Regions from separate parts of the Homo sapiens genome. Here regions 1 and 3 are each linked to region 2. Evidence: promoter capture Hi-C in 16 types of primary human blood cells and fetal thymus (Javierre and others, 2016). All regions are on one chromosome and are shown on one strand. The core of a region is centred on a gene start or on the middle of the fragment in contact, and the rest is flanking DNA. Distances in the headings are between cores, read along the strand shown. Region 1 overlaps USP37 (ubiquitin specific peptidase 37). Region 2 holds the start of SLC11A1 (solute carrier family 11 member 1). Region 3 holds the start of GPBAR1 (G protein-coupled bile acid receptor 1).

Evidence for each region. The method cuts DNA at HindIII sites, captures the fragments that hold promoters and counts their contacts. A CHiCAGO score of 5 or more calls a contact.
Region 1: a contact is called between a fragment that was not itself captured here and the fragment with the promoter of SLC11A1 in region 2, in 1 of 17 cell types (naive CD8 T cells). The highest score is 5.9, in naive CD8 T cells.
Region 3: the fragment with the promoter of GPBAR1 here is called in contact with the fragment with the promoter of SLC11A1 in region 2 in 1 of 17 cell types (monocytes); the score reaches 5.2 in monocytes.

What each region holds. Positions count from the first base shown.
Region 1 is chr2:218,474,996-218,478,338 of GRCh38, forward strand. USP37 (ubiquitin specific peptidase 37) reads right to left here. Exons shown (of 26, transcript NM_020935.3): 19 at 1,845-1,986. Among named protein-coding and RNA genes, the nearest start is that of VIL1, 58 kb to the left of the region's middle. The HindIII fragment of the contact is 1,716 bases long and covers 1,149-2,864 here.
Region 2 is chr2:218,380,605-218,383,697 of GRCh38, forward strand. It overlaps SLC11A1 (solute carrier family 11 member 1), which reads left to right and starts at 1,669. Exons shown (of 15, transcript NM_000578.4): 1 at 1,669-1,771; 2 at 2,356-2,498. The coding sequence starts at 1,765. The HindIII fragment of the contact is 6,449 bases long and covers 1-3,093 here.
Region 3 is chr2:218,259,559-218,262,929 of GRCh38, forward strand. GPBAR1 (G protein-coupled bile acid receptor 1) reads left to right here and starts at 1,457. Exons shown (of 2, transcript NM_170699.3): 1 at 1,457-1,658; 2 at 3,122-3,371. The coding sequence starts at 3,167. RefSeq lists an enhancer at 1,904-2,709. The HindIII fragment of the contact is 11,967 bases long and covers 1-3,371 here.

The sequences.
Region 1 (3,343 bases), core at 757-3,256, 95 kb after region 2:
CTTTGGGTTATTTAACAATCAATAACCAATATATAAACTAAATGGTGAGTCTAACTTTAAAAATAATAAATACATAAGAATACATTATTTTTTCTTGATTGAAATAAGTATATATTTTGTACAAATTTGGAGAATACATAAAAATAATAAAATAAATTCATTCAAAATAGATTACTCAGAGATAATTACTCTAAGTATTTTCAATTTATTTTCTTCCAGATATATATAGATTATACAGTAAATATTCTATCATTATGCCTACTACACCATTATAAATGTTAGCTGATCTTATTAACAATAAATGAGAAAAATAAACACGACATCAAGATTATGTAAAGAAGGCTGGGCGAGGTGGCTCACGCCTGTAATCCCAGCGGTGGATCACCTGAGGTCAGGAGTTTGAGACCAGCCTGGCCAACATGGCGAAAACCCGTCTTTACTAAAAATACAAAAATTAGGCTGGGCGTGGTGGCTCATGCCTGTAATCCCAGCACTTTGGGAGGTCGAGGCCAGCAGATCACTTGAGGCCAGGAGTTCGAGATCAGCCTGGCCAACATGGATAAACTCCATCTCTACTAAAAATACAAAAAAATTAGCCAGGCATGGTGGCACGCACCTGTAGTCCCAGCTACTAGGGAGACAGAGAATCGCCTGAACCTGGGAGGTGGAGGATGCAGCAAGCTAAGATCACACCACTGCACTCCAGCCTGGGTGACAGGGCAAGAGTCTGTCTCAAAAATAAATAAATAAATAAATTAAATAAAAAACCAAAACCCAAAAATTAGGGAGATGTTGTGGTGTACGTCTGTAATCCCAGCTACTCAGGAGGCTGAGGCAGGAGAATCACTTGAACCTGGGGGATAGAGACTGCAGTGAGCCAAGATCGTGCCACTGCACTCCAGCCTGGGCAACAGAGTGAGACTCCGTCTCAAAAAAAAAAAAAGATTATGTAAATATTCAAAAGTTGTTTTCTGGGAGAATTTTGGACTTTCACACATTTCTCATTCAAGTTGAACAACCACAAACTACCTCTGGCTTTAAAGTAAGATAGGAAACAGAACAAAAATAACTACTAAAATAATTCTATTATTTAAAAGGGAGGCTTAAAATAAAATACAGTAGCATAAGATAATGCAAACACCTAGAAAAGCTTAGATCTTCAAAGTATTAACTATCCATATAATTATCTATATATTAATCCAATTAATAAATCCATAATTTAAACAATTAGATTACTTGGTTGCTCTGTTGATGTAAAATGTTTACTACAGTTCCCTCACATAAACAATTGCTACAGGCTGGGAGTAGTGGCTCATGCCTGTAATCCCAGCACTTAGGGAAGCTGAGGTGGTAGGATCACCTGAGCCCAGGAATTTTAGACCTGCCTAGGTCACACAGTAAGACCTTGTCTCTACAAAAAATTTTAAAAACTAGCCAGGCATGGTGGTACATGCCTGTAGTCCCAGCTACTTGGGGAGCTGAGGTAGGAGGATTGTTTGAGCCCAGGAGAACGATGCTGTGGTGAGCCGTGATTACACCACTGTACTCCAGCCTGGGCAACAGAGCGATACCCTGTCTTAAAAAACTGCTACCAAAATAAAGCAAGTAATTATTTGAGGACGAATATGCAAAAGTAGCTTTGAAGGGCAAAAAAAGAAAGTAATTTGTTTAGAACAACGAATTTCTCGTAAGTCTTGATCCATCTGTAAACAGACTGATTTCTGTAGCCAGAGAAGGCATTTTCTTTAAAACTAATTAGTTTGATGATGGTTATGAAAGACATTTGTTTGGACAGTAAGAGATAAACAAATCTTTGTCAGATGTTTTAAGAAAATATTACTTACTTTTTCCAGGTCTTCCTGCTGCTGTTCGTTGCCTAACATTTCACAAAGTCTCTGGCTGAGGGCCACAGAACGTTTTAGCTCATCCTCACTGTCTGAATCAAGGCATAAAGCCAAGGAGCTCTTGGATTTGAAGGTGAATTTCCTGTAATTTAAGGAAAAAAAAAAAAGCCTGATAAACATTTGTCTTTGTTATTCTTTTATTGTAAAAATATCAAAACAAATTGCTTTTCCATTACGGAAAATTACTTAACAGAAAAAAAAGATATATCAAAAGAGGTATATTTCAGCATTACCTTTGCCCCACTCCAAAAGAGCCATGCTTTGAAAACTGGACAACTCTTATGCTACTACGTATCATCAGTAAACTAATCATGTTGTGCCTTTTTTCTTTTAATGATCAACCCCAATGAAATTTGCTATTGTCTTTATAAATTATGCTATTGAATTCATGCAGGCATAGCAATGAATAAATGTTTTTGACAACAAAGTGCATGAAGACTAATTTGTGATCTTTTAAATTATGATCCATGCACTTTAAAAATAACAGTAACATTCCACTTATCCACTTATCTGTAGGTCAGACTTCTGGCAACCTCTACTTTCCAGAACATAGGGATTCCAAAGTAAGAAAAAAGGCTTCTGAGGAAGGCAGTTCCAAAGCCCATGTACTTAGAGGGACCCTTTCTTTCCCAGGAAATGGTGAATAAAATAGTGTATCAAGTTCATCAAGAAATGAGAGCTAAGAAATGAGAAAGAATAACCACAAGAAAGGCAAACAAGAACTATAAAGTCATTTAATGTAAAAGCAAACTATCTTGTAATAATTAAGAGCCTCTGAGGGCAATATCATATTGAAACACAGTGCAATAATTGATACTTAAAATGCTGATTCTAAGTCATTAAGATATACTTAAATTATCCTTAGTTATTTTAAGAATGTAAGGAACAGTGTAACATATTTTAGAAACATTTTCATCCAAACTGTTAAAAATCTTTTAAAAGATAAATCGTTAAAAGGTAAGCTTCAGTTATATAAAAATTCACTTATGTGGAATCCTTTAATGATGCCAGATAAGTAAGGTGTTACTGTGTTGTCTTCTAGGTAAGCCGAAAATAAACTAAAGAAAAAAGTGGTAAAGGTCAAAGAACAAGAACTTTCTTTGATGGAGGTTAACACAAATTCATATGCAATACAAAAAATATATATAAAATGAAAACTAGAAAATACAATTAACCTGAATGTAAAAACTGAAAATAAACATATAGACTAATGGCACCAAGAAATAAGAGGCCAGAGTGGAAATCAGGAAGATTACATAGCAATGTAGATCAAAGAAAAGAGGCAAGTGGTCAGTGATAAGCCCAAACATAGTGTGTGGCTCAGAGCAGCCAGGATATCACTGCACTCCAACCTGAACACTTGAAAAGCCTCCCATGTGCTCAAAAGGGTTTTTAGTATAATAGCCAATTAGCCATCTTAATTCCTCAATTCAGATTTC
Region 2 (3,093 bases), core at 419-2,918:
AGGATGGTCTCGATCTCCTGACCTCGTGATCCACCCTCCTCAGCCTCCCAAAGTGCTGGGATTACAGGCATGAGCCACCACACCCGGTCATGCCCAGCTAATTTTTAAATTTTTTGTAGAGATGAGATCTCACTATGTTGCCCAGGCTGGTCTCAAACTCCTGTGAGCCCCTCAGTTAATAGAAGAAACAGTCAAGCATGGTGGCATAGGTCTGTATTCCCAGCTACCCGAGAGGCTGAGAAGGGAGGCTCTCTTGAGCTCAAGAGTTTAAGGCTATATGCCAGGCATGGTGGCTCACACCTGTAATCCCAGCACTTTGGGAGGTTGAGGTGGGTGGATCACTTGAGACCAGGAGTTCGAGACCAGCCTGGCCAACATAGTGAAACCCCGTCTCTACTAAAAAAAATACAAAAATTGGCTGGGCACAGTGGCTCACACCTGTAATCCCAGCACTTTGGGAGACTGAGGCGGGCGGATCACAAGGTCAGGAGTTTGAGACCAGCCTGGCCAACATGGTGAAATCCCATCTCTACTAAAAATACAAAAATTAGCCAGGTGTGGTTGGCAGGTGCCTGTAATCCCAGCTACTCAGGAGGCTGAGGAAGAAGAATTACTTGAACCCAAGAGGCAGAGGTTTCGGTGAGCCAAGGTCGCGCCATTGCACTTCAGCCTGGGTGACAGAGCAAGACGCCATCTCAAAGTAAATAAATACATACATACATACATACATACAAAAAGTAGCCGGGTGTGGTGGTGCATGCCTGTAGTCCCAGCTACTCAGGAGGCTGAGGCAGGAGAATTGCTTAAACATGGAGGACAGAGGTTGCAGTGAGCTGAGATTATGCCACTGCACTCCAGTCTGGGCAACAGAGTAAGACTCTGTCTCAAAAAAAAAAAAAAAAGGAGTTTGAGGCTGCAGTAAACTAAGATGGCACCACTGCACTTCACACCTCACTCTAGCCTGGGTGACAGAGCGAGACCTTGTCTCTAAAAAAAAAAACAAAAAACGAAAAACCAAAAAAAAAAAGGGTGGGGGTGGAATAGAATAAACAACTCTGAGAAGGGACATGATCTGGTGACAATCTCAAGTGAATCAGTGGTTGAACCAGGACCAGATCCCAGTGCCCCATCTTCTGGGGACGTCCTGGGTCTGAATCTTCAATGCATGTCCCTTCTGCAGTGCCTTCCTCTGTGGCCCTCAAAGGGAAACTGAAGCCTTTGAGGACATGAAGACTCGCATTAGGCCAACGAGGGGTCTTGGAACTCCAGATCAAAGAGAATAAGAAAGACCTGACTCTGTGTGTGTGTACGTGTGTGTGTACGTGTGTGTGTGTGTGTGTGGCAGAGGGGGGTGTGGTCATGGGGTATTGACATGAATACGCAAGGGGCAGGAAGCATCTGAAATCAGAGCTAACTTGGGAGGCACAGAACACGGGGTGCCTGGAAGGGGAACAGATGTGTTGTGGGGCACAGGGCAGGCTGGGAGGGGAACAAAGGTCCACTCCATGGGTAACCAGACCCTTCCGCCAGGGCTGGCCACTTCTGCCTTTGGAAAATGTTTCACAACGCCCCATGTTGTGTGTGTGTGTGAATCGGCCGATGTGAACCGAATGTTGATGTAAGAGGCAGGGCACTCGGCTGCGGATGGGTAACAGGGCGTGGGCTGGCACACTTACTTGCACCAGTGCCCAGAGAGGGGGTGCAGGCTGAGGAGCTGCCCAGAGCACCGCTCACACTCCCAGAGTACCTGAAGTCGGCATTTCAATGACAGGTGAGTAGTGGCCCCTAGGGACAGAGCCTGATTGGGGGGTGGAGTGGAGGAGATCACTAGGCTGGTGGAGACTTGAGGAAGCAAGAAAGCCCTTGGTCCCCTGTGGAAGCCTCTGGTCCCCCGTGGGAGTCCTAGTCTAGAACACAGTTCTGGACACCAGACTCAATCTCACTGGGTGGAGTCCTTCACACCCCTAAGCGGTCTACCTTTCCTTTGTCTGAAGTCCGTGGATCAAAGCCCCTGGAGCTTTCTGGGCTGCCGGAGAAGGTGAGGGGTCCAGCCAAGGGGCAGACATGTGGCCTCAGCTTGCCCTTCTTAGAGCCTAGGGTCTCTCTGCATTCTCTGTGGCAGGAGATCTGCCTCTGGGCATCTGTCCTCACATGAGAGGACAGTAATTCTGAAGCTGCCATGTCCCACACATCTGGAATGTTTGTTTGAGAGGTGGAGGTGATGGACCCAAGATGGGGGCCAGGGACCTTAGTTTCTCCACTTTTCCGGGAGGAGGAGGGAAAGGATCAGGCGGCTTTAACTCTGGGCCACCAGAAAGAGGCAGGACACTCACCATGCTTCATGGGCCCCCACAGGTGACAAGGGTCCCCAAAGGCTAAGCGGGTCCAGCTATGGTTCCATCTCCAGCCCGACCAGCCCGACCAGCCCAGGGCCACAGCAAGCACCTCCCAGAGAGACCTACCTGAGTGAGAAGATCCCCATCCCAGACACAAAACCGGTGGGATGCTGGAAACTTCCTGGGGGCTTGCAAGATTGACAGGATCCTGAAGGATCCCATGGGCTGGAGAATGGGGTCTCCTTATGATCATGGGTGGCAAGTCCCTTCCAGGTCTGAGCAGCAGTGGTGGACAGTGGCAACTGCCCCTTCCTGCTTCCGTCCCCAGTGCTTAGCTGGGGTGCTTCAGTATTTGTCTAAAAGCGATTAAATGACTTTCTCAATGAATCTCAGCTTTCCTATGAAGGAAAAGAGGCCCAGGGGGAATTGGGATTGGAGCCTTGAGGACATGTTATAGCATTTAGGAAAGGGCATAGGGAGAAGTGAAGGAGGCTGCAGGCTGGCATCTAGCATCTAGGATGCTGTCACCTGCATTTCCAGTATCTTCTCTTTTTTTGGAGATGGAGTCTCGCTCTGTAGCCCAGGCTGGAGTGCAGTGGCGCGATCTCAGCTCACTGCAACCTCCGCTTCCCAAGTTTAAGCGATTCTCCTGCCCCGGCCTCCCGAGTAGCTGGGATTACAGGCATGCACCACCATGCCAGGCTAATTTTTGTATTTTTACTAGAGACAGGGTTTCACCATGTTGGCCAGGCTGGTC
Region 3 (3,371 bases), core at 207-2,706, 120 kb before region 2:
CTCCCTCGAGGATGGACTTGAGGCTGGATGCTTTCCTCTTCCCACTTTTTGTCCCAACAGAAGTCCCTGATCTCCAGGATCCCTGACTGGCTGTGCAGAGCTGGCACAGCCACACTCCACGGGCTTCCAGCCCTTCAGGCCCAGCTCTCCCGGAGAGCACCAGAGTCCCTTTGCTCCATTTACTTGCGCTCTTCAGCCAGCAAGTGTTTCCTAATGTCTCACCCCCAGTCCCAGCTTTCCTGCTGCAATTTCCGCCTGTTCCCTCCCATTTCAGGCCTTAAGGGAGTGTGGCTGGGCTTCTCTCCTCCCCCTCACTCCAAAGCCGCACTTGATACAAGGTGGAAATCAAAGCACCACTTCTGGCTTCCCAGCCTTGAACTTGCCCTTCCCTCTCAATGTATCTGGTTTCCTCAGCTTCCCTGTGCAGCAAGAGTGTCACTCCCCTCTTGCTTTTCCCAAGCTCCCCATGCGCCCCTCTCAGCAGATCTGTCTTAGAGGGGCCAGGTGCAGAGAAAGGCAGAAATCCTAATAATGTTCCCAGCGATCGCTGCCTGTCGCGGAGTGCTGAAGGGCCAAGTGTTGATCTGAGTCCTCATCACACGGGACTTCATTTAGTCTCACGATAGGTGAGTACAACTATGGGCCCCATTTGACAGATGAGGAAACTAAGGCAAGGGAACTTTAGTCATTTGCCCAAGTTCACTGGCTTTTTTAAAAAAGGATCCAGACAGCTCTGATTCCAGCGCCAGCTCATGCCTCTTCATCATGGGGGAGGAAAGAGAGGGAGCCATTTGTTGGGGCAAACCCCCACCCATCAAGGGCCATGCACTGGGGTATATGCCGCCATATGTGTTATCCTGTGATATTCCCCACCACGACCTTAATTAGAGGTGGTTTTTCTTGTTCCCATTTTAACACAGGCAAAAACCGAGGCCCAGTAGTACCTTACCCATGGTCACATCCCCAGAGCCATTTGTCCCTCATAGTTCAGAACTTGACTCAGAAAGCAGTTGAGAAAAGTGTGGAATGACCCCAGATTCAGGAAGGCAAGTCTGGCCTTAGAAACTGAAAGGCCCATCAGGTGATGGGATGGGGGAGTGAAGATCCTCAGGCCCCAAACACCTGCCACTGCCACCATCACACACGGAAGTGTGGAGGGAGCCTGGTGTGCTGTCAGCTGGCTGGCCAGTCCAGGGGCTTAAATGTAAATGCATCAGCTGAGGCGGGAAGTCGGGAGGGGTAAGTCAATCATTATTATTCATTAACTGGAATGCATTTCTCAGATTACTCCGAGCTGGAGTAGGGAAACTGCCACCTAGGTGGCAGGGGGAGAGGGGAACTGGGTGGGAGGGGGAGGCAGGCCTCCCAGTTGCTGCAGTTTGGAATATGTCAGGTCCCACCCTCCCAGAGGCGGGGCCAGGGCTGAGTCCTGCCAGCCTCATTTCTCTATCCCTCTGAGAACCCAGACGGGCAGAGCCTGGGTAGGAGAGCCTGGCCCCGCTGTCCCCACTGGGTGGAGACACCATGCACTTGGTCCACTTGTGCTCTTCAGCCAGGACACCAGACATGGTCCAAACCGCTGCAGGGCTGGCTGCAGCAACTCCCTGACACTCAGGAAGGCCCAGGCTGGGCAGGCAATACCTGCTCCCAACAGCCATGTGAGTAGCTACTCCCCCAAACCCCCAAACCCCAGATCCTGGAGAGGCTACTACACCCAGCCCAAGCCACCAGACCCTCGGGGGTGTGCAGGTGGTACAGCCTGCACCCTGCTGGGAAATCACCCCTGGGGGCTGCTCCCTGCCTTTGTCGCTGTTCTAGTGGAGGTGGGTTGGGGGGAATCATTCCGATTAGGGCTGGGAGCTCCAGCTCAGGCCAGGTTTGGGGTAATGGACCCTGAGTCTCACGGGACTTAAGAGAGTTGATGATGCCCTGGGAAAGGGAACAGAAACTGCAAGGCCTCTAGAGAGGAAAAGACATCCTGGGTGGAGGGCACTGGAAGAGATTGAGAAAGAGAAAACATGCTTAGGGGAGGGGAAAGGGGGCATAAGGCCTTGGAGGCCCAGGCTCAGGGTGCTGGGGGAACCTGGGAAGGAAGGGGAGCATCTTCCTTCCTCTCAGCTCAGGGCAGCCATGGGGCCCTGATCCCCTGTCCTGGAGGAGGGGAGAGGTATGAATCCTTTCCTTATTGACTTGGATCCTAGCAACAGCAGCTGCTCCCCTGTTGACAGAAGCAGGAGTTCCCACAGGACCCAGGACCCCTCCCCCTGTCCCCAGGATGTGGCAGCAGAGCCATGACACTGGAGGACTGAGACCAGGGAATGACGGGAAGGACAGGGACAGATGAGAGCCACAGAGAAGCCAGACTCTGCCCAGACTCCTCTTCCCTCTCCTCTGGGCTCAGCCTCAGGCCTGGGGGTGTGGGGGAGTCCCTCTCCTTGCTGCTGGCATCTCCACGTTCACTGCCACACGTGCCCTCCAGCTGCTTCTCTCCTCCCTCCAGCTCCCAGGAAGGACCCTGTTGCTAGTGTGGAGCAAAGACGAGTCAAGTTTATGGGCTGGAAGTCCTACCCGGAGGCTGCTCACTGAGCTGTGATGGCTACAAGGACAGATGGGGGGAAGGGTGCAGGGTGCCCGAGACCTGGCCCGCTGGAGCCTGTCACCTAATGGCTGGCTGGAAGACCACTACACACCAGCCAGCCCTGGTCCATTCTCTCATTTAGAGGCCTCCCCGGTGGAGGCAGGGATACACAAAATGCTTTGGGGCTGGATGGGCCCGCCTTTCAGTCTAAACAAGAGACCTCAACACAGCTGCCCAGAAAAGGCAGATACCAGAAATGGATAAAGCTGGCTGGGTGGGGACTGTCCGAAGGGCAGCCAGCAGTGAGCTCCGGCTGGTTGCTACCACACAGGACATATGTGTTGCCAGACCTGAATTTTCAATAGAAACCAAAGATAGTTTTTTATATAAATGTTTAATTGGCAATTAATTGAAAAATTCTGTGTATCAGCGAACATGATACAGCCCACAGCCTGCGGGTCTGCGCCCCTGGATTAACATGCTGCCCTGCCAGGAGGACACGACCTGCAGCCCCATCCTAACTCTGGCCACCCCATCCTGCAGGCATGCCGGCTGCCGCTCCAGGACTCCCCTGTCCCCAGGACCAAGATGACGCCCAACAGCACTGGCGAGGTGCCCAGCCCCATTCCCAAGGGGGCTTTGGGGCTCTCCCTGGCCCTGGCAAGCCTCATCATCACCGCGAACCTGCTCCTAGCCCTGGGCATCGCCTGGGACCGCCGCCTGCGCAGCCCACCTGCTGGCTGCTTCTTCCTGAGCCTACTGCTGGCTGGGCTGCTCACGGGTCTGGCATTGC